3 separate regions of the Homo sapiens genome follow, and all the other regions are linked to region 2. The links are contacts of gene promoters, found by promoter capture Hi-C in blood cells and fetal thymus (Javierre and others, 2016). All regions are on one chromosome and are shown on one strand. Each heading gives the region's core, a stretch centred on a gene start or on the middle of the fragment in contact. The rest is flanking DNA. Distances are from core to core; before and after follow the strand shown. Region 1 holds the start of UHMK1 (U2AF homology motif kinase 1). Region 2 holds the start of TMCO1 (transmembrane and coiled-coil domains 1). Region 3 holds the start of METTL18 (methyltransferase 18, RPL3 N3(tau)-histidine).

The links. The method cuts DNA at HindIII sites, captures the fragments that hold promoters and counts their contacts. A CHiCAGO score of 5 or more calls a contact.
Region 1: the fragment with the promoter of UHMK1 here is called in contact with the fragment with the promoter of TMCO1 in region 2 in 1 of 17 cell types (total CD4 T cells); the score reaches 5.4 in total CD4 T cells.
Region 3: the fragment with the promoter of METTL18 here is called in contact with the fragment with the promoter of TMCO1 in region 2 in 2 of 17 cell types (activated CD4 T cells and fetal thymus); the score reaches 8.7 in activated CD4 T cells.

The regions. Positions count from the first base shown.
Region 1 is chr1:162,494,978-162,499,417 of GRCh38, reverse strand. UHMK1 (U2AF homology motif kinase 1) reads right to left here and starts at 1,600. Exons shown (of 8, transcript NM_175866.5): 1 at 1,150-1,600. The coding sequence starts at 1,417. RefSeq lists enhancers at 863-1,363, 1,550-1,629, 1,364-1,864. The HindIII fragment of the contact is 6,861 bases long and covers 536-4,440 here.
Region 2 is chr1:165,767,551-165,772,067 of GRCh38, reverse strand. It overlaps TMCO1 (transmembrane and coiled-coil domains 1), which reads left to right and starts at 3,200. Exons shown (of 7, transcript NM_019026.6): 1 at 3,200-3,386; 2 at 3,799-3,876. The coding sequence starts at 3,317. It overlaps TMCO1-AS1 (TMCO1 antisense RNA 1), which reads right to left and starts at 3,139. Exons shown (of 3, transcript NR_125374.1): 1 at 2,693-3,139. RefSeq lists enhancers at 2,237-2,912, 2,913-3,589. The HindIII fragment of the contact is 3,297 bases long and covers 2,730-4,517 here.
Region 3 is chr1:169,792,474-169,796,989 of GRCh38, reverse strand. METTL18 (methyltransferase 18, RPL3 N3(tau)-histidine) reads left to right here and starts at 2,083. Exons shown (of 2, transcript NM_033418.4): 1 at 2,083-2,175; 2 at 3,093-4,461. The coding sequence starts at 3,295. The coding sequence ends at 4,413. FIRRM (FIGNL1 interacting regulator of recombination and mitosis) reads right to left here and starts at 1,950. Exons shown (of 25, transcript NM_001320047.2): 1 at 1,875-1,950; 2 at 1,007-1,161. RefSeq lists an enhancer at 2,031-2,350. The HindIII fragment of the contact is 2,103 bases long and covers 634-2,736 here.

The DNA.
Region 1 (4,440 bases), core at 351-2,850, 3.3 Mb after region 2:
AGGCAGGAGGACTGCTTGAGCCCAGGAGTTTGGAGACCAGCCTGGGTAACAAAAGGGGACCTCTTCTCTACAAAAAATTAGCCAGGCTTGGTGCTACGTGCCTGTAGTCCCAGCTACCTGGGAGGCTGAGGTAGGAGCATGGCTTTAGGAGGAATTGGAGGCTGGAGTGAACTGTGATCTCGCCATTGTACTCCAGCCTGGGTGACAGAGTAAGAACTTGTCTCAAAAAAAAAAACTAAAACAAAAATAAACAGCTCTCTATAATCTAAATACTAACAAAGAGATTAAGACTTTTCGGATGAAATTTTAATCTTGCAGAGATCAGGCAAGTCCCTAGGCTTGCAAAATTTTTCCCTTTTCAATACCAAGGTTATAGTAACAGACCATTTAGTAAACTAAAAAAATGTAGCACTAGTGTTAATTCTTCTCCAAAATGATATTATAAAAAAACTCACTCTTCAAATTAACTATGCATCATACTTGCTAGGAAATAAGACTTTTCTTTAATAACCAAAGCTATAACTAATGATAAGCTTTCTGTCGTGTAATGAAAATGAAACCTTTTCACAGATCAATCATCAGTGATCATTACATATCTTACATTCTGAGTATCTGATTCTTGAAACAGTCTCAAGAGAGCAAAGGTATAGTGTTCCTAAATTTCACACTTCTATAAAGGCTCCCATGGAATAGTGCATCATTTCTTCCAAATCCGTACTAAAGATATAATAGGTGAGCTATACGAGTTACTAGCATTGATGTCACAAGGCCCAGACGTAGTTCCCATTTTCTACTGGTATGCAAAGATTCAAAAATTTCCACACAAGACACGACAATCTAGCAAAGACATGCCTCCTCTCACTAGAAAAGATATTTCTGTATGCTAATGAATGCGGCATTCTCCGATGAGACTCGAAGCAAGACAATTTACTGAGCATCTATGTGACACCTGGCAAAGCAGACCACCAACTCCACTATACCGCAGACAGTAATAAAGTGAAAGGGGAAAGGGGCCTGGATGGGGTGATAAAGAGGGCTAAACCCGCTTCTCCCGCAGAAGGGGAGGAAGATGGAACGCCAGACAGCGAGAGGAAGAGTGTGCTCGGACTGTGACCTGGGCAAGAAGAGAAAGGAGACAGCGGCAATTACCGATGTTTCTGTGACCCTGCAACTGTTCCAGCGCCGCCCTCTCTTTGCGGAAACCATACTCGGCGGCAGAGGCCGCAGCCCCGGTGGTTCCTGGCGGCAAGAACTGCTTGAGGGCGCCGGGGGGCGAGCCAGGGTTGCCGCAGCAGCGAACCCGATACACCGAGGCGGAGGAGCCGCTACCCAGACGGCTCTGTACCTGCCACAGCCGCCCGAAGGCCTCCAGAAAACGCGGCGGCTCCGCGCCCCAGGCGCAGCCGGATCCCGCCATCGGTGTGGGTTAAGGGCACGGACACGGGAGCTGACGCGACGCCTGAGGCAGGCCGGCCGGGCCCGCGGTCACATCTCCGCCAGCCGGACCAGCGGCTCCGCAGGGAGGGACCTGCAGCCGCCTCACCGACTCCCGGGACTTCAAGCAGCCATGACACCGGAAGCCGTGGTGCACCCGAGTCCCAGAAGCCGGAAATGGAGGAAGAGCCTATCATACAGGCCGAAGGAGGGGGGGCTCAGAAGGGGCGGGGCCTAGAAGAGATTAGACGCGCTAGGTTTGGAAAAAAGAACCGAGAATAAGAAGTAACCTTAATTATTGAGTATCTACCATTCCAGGCCCAGTGTTAACCGCTTTCACATAGACCTGAAGCCAAAACTGGTCCTTTTTCTTGTTGAGGCACCTCACCTTACCTCACCACTAGGAACCCGAAAAATAAAACCCGGCCTACATTTCTCATAGAAAGGATCCCAAGGAAAACACCCCAGGAACAAAAAGAGAGTTTACCATCACCTCCAGGTCCACGGTCACCAGAACCCATGATTCTGGAAGCCTAGACCTTTGTTCTTCTTTTAGATGTAAACCGAAAATACAATTCTAAGCCCCCCGTGTCGCCAACCATCGGAATGGACTTTCTCCCAGGCCAGGGCACTCTAAAATTCTGGTTCAGTCCATGACGGGAAGTGGGGGTCCGACTAGCCTCATACCTCTCCGGTTAAGGTCAACACAGACCTTCGGTCTGGTAAGAAACATTTACAATCTATTTTCTTGGAAGCCTGGTACCTGGAGGCTTCATCTGCATGACAAAACTTTGGTCTCCACAAGTTCTTATGACAACCCAGACATTCCTTTCTATTGATAACTCTTTCAACCAATTGCCAATTAGAAAAATTTTAAATCTACCTATAACCTGGAAGGACCCATTTCTCCCCCCACCAATTCCCGCTTCGAGTTTTCCCACCTTTCTGGGCCAAATCAATGTATTTCTTAAATATATTTGATTGAAGTCTCATGTCTCCCAAAATGTATAAAACCAAGCTGCACCCCAACCACCTTGGGTACATGTTCTCAGGATCTCCTGAGGGCTGTGTCACAGACCATGGTCACTCATAGTTGGCTCAGAATAAATCTCTTCAAATATTTTACAGAGTTTAACTCTTTTTATCAACATAGTCCACCTTGCCTATGGCTCCCTCATCAAAAAGCATTCACCCTGGGCAAACACGGATCTGTTCCAAATTTTTATTTTTCATTTATTTATTCAATTATTTTATTCATTCAGCAAACGTTTATTGAGTAACAAATGTAGCAAATAGGCATCTCAATCCACAAACTCGAGTGTGTAAGAAATGTAGCCTTCTTTACTTTTCAGTCATTCAACCTTTTCTATTTCAAGATCTATTCTGATTGTGTGGCAAAAACTTAGTATCAGACAATAGGCCCTATCTTCTTTTCTTCAGGTTTTGTGTAAGTTCCCAGCCAGATGAGATGGTTCATGTAGTGCTAAGTGGAAAGTTTGAGGAGAGGTTGAGGACTAAACTCTGACCTGTCTTCTCTCTTGCTCAATTTTTTTTTTTTTTTTTTTTTTTTTTGGTAAGACGGAGTTTCGCTCTTGTTGCCCAGGCTGGGGTGCAATGGCATGATCTCGGCATCTCCGCCCACCGCAACCTCCTCCTCCTGGGGTCCAGCGATTCTCCTGCCTCAGCCTCCCAAGTAGCTGGAATTACAGGAATTTGCCACCATGCCAGCTAATTTTGTATTTTTAGTAGAGATGAAGTTTCTCCATGTTGGTCAGGCTGGTCTCGAACTCCTGCCCTTGTGATCCGCCTGCCTCACCTTCCCAAAGTGCTGGGATTACAAGCGTGAGCCACTGCACCTGGCCCCAAATTCTTATCTAAGGGATGTGAGGAGTCACAGCCTACAAACCATAAAATCTCATCAGATTGTCAGAGGTGTTCAAACCAGAGCAACTCCATCTTGAATAGGAGCTGGGTAAAATAAGGCTCAGATCTACTGGGCTGCATTTCCAGGAAGTTAGGTATTCTAAGTCACAGGATGAGATAGGAGGTCAACACAAGATACAGGTCACAAAGACCTTGCTGATAAAACAGATTGCAGTAAAGAAGCCAGCCAAAACCCACCAAAACCAAAATGGTGGTGAAGGTGACCTCTGGTCGTCCTTACTACTCATTAGATGCTAATTATAATACATTAGCATGCTAAAGGAAACTCTTACCAGCACCATTACAATTTACAAATGGTATGGCAACGTCCTGGAAGTTACCCTACATGGTCTAAAAAGAGGAGGAACCCTCAGTTCCAGGAATTGCCCACTCCTTTCCTGGAAAACTCATGAATAATCCACCCCTTGTTTAGCATATAATCAAGAAATAACTATAAATATGAATAACTATAAGTCGAGCAGCCTAAGCTGTTGCTCTGCCTATGGAGTAGCCATTCTTTTATCCCTTTTACTTCCTAATAAACTTGCTTTATGGACTCATTCTGAATTCTTTCTTGCGTGAGGTCCAAGAACCCTCTCCTGGGGTCTGGATTGAGACCACTTTCCAGTAACAAGATAGGTTGGTTGGTTGGTTTGTTTGTTTGAGACAAAGTCTCACTCTATCACCCAGGCTGGAGTGCAGTGGCGTGATCTCAGCTCACTGCAACCTCTGCCTCCTGGGTTCAAGGAATTCTCCCACCTCAGCCTCCCGAGTAGCTGGGATTATAGGCATGCGCCACCATGCCCGGTTAAATTTTGTATTTTTAGTAGAGACGGGGTTTTGCCATGTTGGTCAGGCTGGCCTCGAACTCCTGACCTCAGGTAATCCTCCTACCTTGGCCTCCCAAAGTGTTAGGATTACAGGCATGAGCCACTGCACCCGGCCACAAGATGGGTTTTGTTTAACCCCATATAACGTGACTTACTTTCCAACCTAACTCTGGCATAACATCACATGACAGATAAAGAAGGAAATACAAATATTTTAACCCCAAATATATTTCCTTTTTTTTTTTTGAGACGG
Region 2 (4,517 bases), core at 1,951-4,450:
CTAAAATTGTGCCACTGCACTCCAGCGTGGGCGACAGAGTGAGATTCCATCTCAAAAATAAATTAAATAAATAAATAAAAATGAAGCACAGTATTGGCTGGGCATGGTGGCTCATGCCTGTAATCCCAACACTTTGGGAGGCTGAAGCAGGAGGACTGCTTTGAGCCCTGGAGTTCGAGACCGAGCCTGGGCAACAAAGTGAGACCCTGTCTCTAGAAAACAAAACACAACCCCAAAGCAACAACAGTATTATTATTACTAATTCTACTAATAATGTAAGAACAGGCTTAGCTCCCATTCACCTTTCACAGAAAGTTACTTGAAGATGTACCACAACATCAAGTATAAACTAGAAACAAAAATGTGGTTTCAAGAGAATAGTAAAATTAAGTCCCAGGACAAAAGTCTTCCTATTGTACTAGAGATTGGAGGAGGTCAGTGAGCTTTGGGAGAGCAGTCCTCATGGGGAAAGCTTTGAAATCTAAAAATTAGATAGTACAACTAAGAGCTTAGAGAATTTGGGAATATAACAAAGAAAACTAGTAGAATCTAGAAAAGATGTTATCTGAACTTGTCTCTAGCACTGTTCCTTTTTTTTTTTTTTTTTTTTTTTTGAGACCGAGTCTTGCTCTGTCGCCCAGGCTGGAGTGCAGTGGCGCCATCTCGGCTCACTGCAAACTCCGCCTCCCAGGTTCGCGCCATTCTCCTGCCTCAGCCTCCCGAGTAGCTGGGACTACAGGCGCCCACCACCACGACCAGCTAATTTTTTTGTATTTTTAGTAGAGACGGGGTTTCACCGTGTTAACCAGGATGGTCTCAATCTCCTGACCTCGTGATCCGCCCGCCTCAGCCTCCCAAAGTGCTGGGATTGCAGGCGTGAGCCACCGCGCCTGACTTCTAGCACTGTTCTTAAACAAGGGGCATAGTGTCATGACATCATTACCCTAGAAAAGGAAGTGTATCCTAGCAGTCCATGGTTGTAAACATTTACACAGGAATAACTTAACTGCTTATTAATATATTTCATATTTTCTCATTTTTTCATATTTTAACATCTCTGAATGGGATTCTTCTTACAATCAATGGTGTGTCATGGTTTAATTAGTTATTTTTTCCTCTTTAGTAGTAGATAAAATAATGATGCGTCTTACAATGAATAGCATGTTGAATTTGATGAATTGTGTGTGCCAAGCACTGCTTGAAATGCTTTATAATATACTTTTCCTCATCCAGTCTTCATAGCTGATGTTACCACCATTTTGAAGGCTCAAAGATGCTAAACAATAGGTTCTAGGACTGCTGTCAAGTAAGTGGCAGAGCAAGAATTTAAAATCAGGTCTGATTTCCAAGATCATGCTCTTATTGTTATCTCAGCACTTACCTTGGGTGATACAAAGGTGAATAAAAACCTATCCTTGTCTGAACTGCTCAAATAAAGGTCTAGCTCAAATATGATCTTTCTGAAACCTTTCCAACTCCCCAGGAAGAATACATCTTGTTTTCATCTGTACCCCCTCAACATTTTAAGAATACCTCTATAATACCTATAATCTTATTATATTATATAATCTCCCTGGGCCCTTAGAAGTCAGGAATATTCTCTTAACCATCCTTTTGACCCTACAGTGCCTACCACAGTTCTTGACATATAGTAGAAGCTCAATAATGTTTCTTAAAAAGGAGACAGGGTCTCTGTTGCTAAGTCTGGGAGACAAGAAATGCACATAAAGCTAAAAAAAAGTCAAAAGTAGTGTTTAGGAGAATTATATATTTAAGTGCAGTACAGTTTAAAAGAACCAATGAGGGCCGGCCACGGTGGCTCACGCCTGTATTCCCAGCACTTTGGGAGGCCGAAGTGGGTGGATCTGAGGTCAGGAGTTCAAGACCAGCCTGGCCAACATGGCAAAACCCCGTCTCTACTAAAAATACAAAAAATTAGCTGGGCGTGGGGACGGGCACCTGTAGTCCCAGCTACTTGGGAGGCTGAGGCAGGAGAATGGCTTGAACCCGGAGGCAGAGGTTGCAGTGAGCCGAGATTGTGCCATTGCACTCCACCTGGGCAACAAGAGTGAAACTCCATCTCAAACAAACAAAAAAACACCAATGATAGGAGGAAGTACAAGAGGATACAGCTCAGCCAGCTTCCAGGTTTTCACCCATACACACACACACCCCAGTGTGAAAAAGCTGAAACCGTCTACAATGGCTGAAACCACGCTGCTGAGACATTTTTGAATTTTAATTAGTTAGCAACACTTATAAATTAAGTTTCACATAAAACCCAGGATTTCTGGATTTTCCTGAGAAACGAAGACATCTCAGAAACTGGGTGCTCATTCTCCTAGAGAAATGGGTTGGATTTGGGTATCAAATTCTCCTTTCAGATGAACTTAATGCTCACTTATCCATCGTAGTAACTTCCACCATTTGTTTAGGCTCAGCTTGCATAAGATAATTTATTTTCTCTCGCCAGTCTAGGCATCTGGGTTTAAGACCCCTTCTCTAGATACATTACTCACTGCACTATCACACTATGAATTTTCAGGCATCCGTGCTTTGACTTCCACTTTGCCTAGAAAGTCCTTTGCTATCTCCAAAAGTACTCCTACTCCCCTAAGGCACTGCTTCAATTCCTTTCATTAGCTTCTTCTGACCACTCTCTCAACCGTGTCACGCAGCACTGTGGTAATACCTCTATTAAAACCCTTATCAGAGCGTATGCACAAGCTTCTCCTCTTCGCGCTGACGTTCGCTCCTTGAGGCCAGCGGCCCACAACTAACTCATTTCGCGGTTCCAGCTTCACGTCCATGCCCTGGCACCTACACCCAGTCGTTCAGTACCTTTGCGGAAGTCAGTCTTCTTACTTCACGGCAAACCCAAGCTAAACTAATATTACGACCACAGAAGTTGGGCTGAGGTAGAAGTCAAGACTATCCCAATAACTGGATTCTGGCCGAGAAAAAGGCGCGCGCCAGCACCCCAGTCAGTAAAATCTACCGGGCAAAGTTCGCCGCCGCCACTATCCTCCTCTGGCTCTGAAATAGTTCCAATTCTCGCGAGATTCGGCCTGACTACCAGCCCTTCAGCTCCAGTGAGTTGCGGGTTGGTTTCCTCTAGACTCTCGTGGCCACACCGTTCTCCGATACGAGCCTTTCCGGTGCTATGCCCCGGAAGCGGAAGTGCGATCTTCGGGCTGTCAGAGTTGGTCTGTTACTCGGTGGTGGCGGAGTCTACGGAAGCCGTTTTCGCTTCACTTTTCCTGGCTGTAGAGCGCTTTCCCCCTGGCGGGTGAGAGTGCAGAGACGAAGGTGCGAGATGAGCACTATGTTCGCGGACACTCTCCTCATCGTTTTTATCTCTGTGTGCACGGCTCTGCTCGCAGAGGGTGAGAGCGGGTATTTCTCAGACGTTTGATCAGTCCCCGGGAGGAAGGGCCCCGGGGTCCCCTGTGCCACCAGGGGAAAGATCGCGAGCCTTACTTGCTTGAGAGGCTCATCTACTCCACTTCAGGGAATCTCTGGGCAACTCGTGAACAGGAGCAGGAGGGGAGTATGGAGTCGATTGCCGAGTTTTCTTTGGTCTCAGGTAGATTTCACTTGGGTATTTGTGGAGACACCTTCACATCATGTTACTGTTGTTTTGGCTGAAGAGTCAGTTGTATTAGCCTTTGAAAAAAGTTAACTATGGGTAAATACAAAGCGAAAAGTTGGAATTCCTCCTTCTCCAACAGTAACCACTTTGTTTGTTGTGATCATTCCAGTCATTTCTCTATTAACATGTTGCTTTTAATGTTTTAGGCATAACCTGGGTCCTGGTTTACAGGACAGACAAGTACAAGAGACTGAAGGCAGAAGTGGAAAAACAGAGTAAAAAATGTGAGTATGGCAACACATTAGAAATAATTTCAACACGTCAAGCTCATTAAGTCCATGTTCACAATAAATATTTTAAGAGCACCAGCTGATACAAAGATGAACCTGACTTGAAGCCTATTTAGAAATAGAAGACTTTTATGCAAAATGTGTAATACCAACTAGAGGGAAGTGAGGGGCGTAGCAGATACATGTTATGTGCTGTGGTGGTTCTAAAGAAGAGGTTCAATCTGGCGCAGTGGCTTACTCCTGTTAATCCCAGCACTTTGGAAGGCTGAGGCAGGACTGAACTTAGGGGTTTGACACCAGCCTGGGCAACATAGGGAGACCTCGTCCCTACAGAAAAAATTAGCTGGGTATGGTGGTACACACCTATAGTCCCAGCTATTTGGGAGACTGAGGCATGAGGATCCCTTGAGCCCAGGAGATTGAGGCTACAGTGGGCCACGATGGTGTCACTACACTGCCTCCTGGGCAATAGTGAGACTTGTCTTTAAAAAAAAAAGAAGAAGAGGCTTCATTCAGTTGTGAGGAACCATGGTAGCCTTCATGATGCTGATGGCCTTGCAGTTCCTTGTGGATAGTTAGAATTTGGATAGAGAATGAAATGGGGAAAGGAAATTCCAGGTAAAGAAATAACATAT
Region 3 (4,516 bases), core at 834-3,333, 4.0 Mb before region 2:
AACTGAACAGGCCAATGTGATACAAGTGTAAGACTGCGTTTGGGGGAACTGCCTAAGATTGAAGGCTCTGAAAAAGCCCCTCTAAGGAAGTGACATTTGGGCCAAGACATAAACATGAAATATGCAAAAGGCTGAGAGAACAAATCAGGCTGAGCAAAAAGATCTTGAGGTAGGTGAGCCTAATGTATTCATGAACAGAGTGTAGTTAATTAACTAGGTATGAGAGAAGGGCAAGGCTTAGATCACCTGGAACCTTGAAGGTAAAGTGGTTTAAAAAGGGAAATGACGAGATCTATGTTTTTCCCCTCTTAACTTTTTTGGAATAATGAATTATGAGTAGAAACAAGGAAACTATTAATACTCCAAGTGAGAGGTGATAAGGGTTTGGAATCAGAGTGGTAGCAATGAGGATGGAGATAAACGGATTGATTCAAGACATAGTTTGGAATCAGAAACAATAGAACTTACTGATCGGGTGTGTGAGACAGAGAGGATTCAAGGTTTCAGTTTGTGAAACCATTTACTCAGATGAAGAAAACTAGAGGAAGTTTGGGCTTTTTTGAATATGTCGTTTGAAGTGCAAAGCTAGGTGGGAATGTTGACTTTCAACTTAATGAAGTCTCTCTATAAGCTTGTGGGGAAGAAGAGGAATCACGTTCCGTGTCTCTGTTCTCCCAAAGCCTAACACCATGTCTCACACACATTATGCACGCAGTTTAAGTGTTTTTGAATGTTTTGAGGGTGGCTATTTGTTTTCAAGTTGAAACTCCTTGAAGACGGCAGTTCTGTACCTACACAAAAACTAAAAAAGGGGGCTTTGGCACCTTCTGAGATTTTGCTAATGCCTAGGTGAATGACTTCTATGTGATTACATAGGGCTTTAGCTGCACAATATTTGTGCAGTATTGAGATTCTCTCAAGTGAAGGTTACTTTTTTTCTTTTGAGTGTAATTGTATAAAGCTGGGCTCAAATGTTGTGAAAAAGATACATATACATATGGTTTACCATGAAAGGCTAGGATTCCAGGCACATTTACAACCACAAAGGCATGAGACCAATCAAGAATGTGCTGCACCCGGACGAAGAAGGCGCTAAGCGCCTCAAATCCAACAGTTGAAAGCCAACAACAAGCGGAAGAACTCTTTCAGAAAGACTCCAGCCTGGGTGAGAGGAGTGAGAACTTGTCAAAAAAAAAGAAAGAAAGAAGAAAAAGAGGTCTGAGAGGGGAAGGAGGAAAATCATTTTTATTTACTGAACATCTTTTAAAGATTTCACACCACAGAACTATGCCCTTTAATTCTTATAACGCTAAGAAAGCCCTTATTCATATTCACCACCCTTTTTACGGGAGACAAAAGCTCAGAGTATCTCGCTTTACCTCAAACTATTAAGAGCCAGAGCTATCGTCATACCGCAGGTCTCAGTCCTTGCCTCCCCCATTATCCACTAGCAAAAGTATTTACACTTAATTGCAAGCAACGAGTACAGAAAAACTGAAAGAAGGAATGGAAGAAAACGCCACATCCACTGCTAAAACCTTGGGTCAGAACACGTCCGCGAGGCTTTCCAGGGCCAAAGCCTTACTTAAATCTACCACGGTTGTCGCTTCCCCTCCAGTCCCTCACTTTTCATCCCACTCACTGACAAAGAAAAGAGGGGGTTCAGGCCGCGGTAATATAACCCAGCCTGGCGGTGGGTCTGAAGGGACAGAAGAGAAAGGTTCGCGACCCGCCCACACCCTTCTCTAGGTAGAAGTGACAACCAAGGAAGGATATGAGGAGTCGGGGCAGGACGGACGGCAGTTCCCGGCGGCATAGCTCCTCTGGCCAGCTACTTAATTCTTCCAGGGGAACCGCGCTAGCTGGGACCGCACCTTCCTGAGACATACTTTCGTCAAACAGGAGAGCTTCAAACCAGACCCGCCAAAGCCCAGACCGGAAACTCGCAGTCCCGCCAACCCTTGCGCGCTCTCCGCCGGCTCCAAAACCATAGAGAGGAGGGCGGCTGGTTTCTTGGTGAGCCCGGGTCCCTCAAGGCCGGAAAGAAAGTCGGGCTTCTCTAGCCCCTGGAGGACTCGACTCACTGGTGCGCGATTTAGGTCCGGAGGAGGCGTTGTGAGGTGAGCTTTTTCAGAAGCGCGATCCCAGGACACGTCGGGAAGCAAGCATCCCCAGGTCTGGATCACTGTAAACATTACATTCAAATGGGGAGGTGAGGGCCAGAAGTCCCCACTTCTGGGGTCGGATTTGTTCCGGGACCTGCAGCCGGAAGTGACTCCAAGCCTTGCAGCGTGATGGGAGAGGAAAGAGGCGCGTTCCTAGCCGCGGGACTGGGTGACCCGCCTCTCCCCCAAATTGTAAATCTTGTATAAAGGGAACAAAGATCCCACTTGCCAGAACTGTGAAAATTGAGGCAGATGGTATAGTGTCTAGCGCAGTAGATAGAAGATTCTCAATAAAGTTGCTTCTTATTTCTACAGGTCTCTCCAAACTACTGCAGTGCCCTAGTTTGCGTTTGCTCTGCCACCGAATTAGTCTTTACTAATTATTGCCAAATTACCCCCACTTCTATACACTTAGGGCTGCTGTTCTCGACTAAATGTTTGGAGTGAAGTCTTGGATGAATTTACACACACCAGGCCATACCTATGCATGTTTTTAAAGGGACGCTGACTTACCAAAATAAAATACTGCACCTCTTCTGTAAAAGACAGAAGTGAAGTTATTCTGGAAGCTTAGGGGGTGAATATGGTTGGACACAAATCAAGACAGCTGAAAGACAGCAAGTAGCTAGGCTGTCCTGTCTGAATATCTTGGACTTTATGTTTGTCCAGGTGGTAGTGGTGGTGGTTGCTGTTGTTCTTCTGTTTGTTTTTATAGTTGATTTTCTTCTCCCACTTTGGAACCCTTAAGGTGTGTATGAGTGTCCAAATCTCTTATCTCTCTCTCTTCCCCACAACTTTTTAAGAAAAAGCAGCTGTATGGTGGGACAGGGAGGGGTGGGGGTGGCTGTTTAATATTACACTTTAGTGAAATGTGCCATTTTGCTTTAATCATCATTTTCTTTCTTTTTTTTTTTTTTTTCTTTCCAGAGCTGCTTGGAAAGAGGACCAAAGACGTCTAAAAAGTCATTTGGAAATATCTCTAAATATTTGTTACCATGTATAAGCTGCTAAAGAGAAATTGGGCCCAACAAAACTAATTGAATAATTGAGGCAGATTTGTGTGTATCATCAAATTCTATCCAGAAGTTGAAGAATCTGAATTTAAAGATTGTGTGCATTTAATAAGAGGATGACCTTTCAGTTTAATTTCACTATAGAAGACCATCTGGAAAATGAATTAACACCCATTAGAGATGGAGCTTTGACCCTGGATTCCTCAAAAGAGCTGTCAGTCTCAGAAAGTCAAAAAGGAGAAGAGAGGGACAGAAAATGTTCTGCAGAACAATTTGACTTGCCTCAGGATCACTTGTGGGAACATAAGTCAATGGAAAATGCAGCTCCCTCTCAAGACACAGACAGTCCACTCAGTGCAGCCAGCAGTTCAAGGAACTTGGAGCCACATGGAAAACAGCCCTCCTTGAGAGCTGCCAAAGAGCATGCTATGCCTAAAGATTTAAAGAAGATGTTAGAAAATAAAGTCATAGAAACATTACCAGGTTTCCAGCATGTTAAGTTATCAGTAGTGAAAACCATCTTGTTGAAAGAGAACTTCCCTGGAGAAAACATAGTTTCAAAAAGCTTTTCTTCTCACTCTGATCTGATTACAGGTGTTTATGAGGGAGGCTTAAAAATCTGGGAATGTACCTTTGACCTCCTGGCTTATTTCACAAAGGCCAAAGTGAAATTTGCTGGGAAAAAAGTCTTGGATCTTGGTTGTGGATCAGGTTTACTAGGTATAACTGCATTCAAGGGAGGGTCCAAAGAAATTCACTTTCAAGATTATAACAGTATGGTGATTGATGAAGTAACCTTACCTAATGTAGTAGCTAACTCCACTTTGGAAGATGAAGAAAATGATGTAAATGAGCCAGATGTGAAAAGATGCAGGAAACCAAAAGTAACACAACTATATAAATGCCGATTTTTTTCTGGTGAGTGGTCTGAGTTTTGTAAGCTTGTACTAAGTAGTGAAAAACTTTTTGTAAAATATGATCTCATTCTCACCTCAGAAACCATTTACAACCCAGATTATTATAGTAATTTGCACCAGACTTTCCTTAGACTGTTAAGTAAAAATGGACGTGTACTTTTGGCCAGCAAAGCACATTATTTTGGTGTAGGTGGAGGTGTTCATCTCTTTCAGAAGTTTGTAGAAGAAAGAGATGTTTTTAAGACCAGAATACTCAAAATAATTGATGAAGGATTGAAGAGGTTCATAATTGAAATAACTTTTAAGTTTCCTGGTTAATTAACATTCACTGAGTATCCAAAATGAAATAAACAGAAGGACCAAAAATTTGAGTGTTTGATTTCTGTTTTGCTATTATTTTTTCTGAAATTTTGATGTTGTT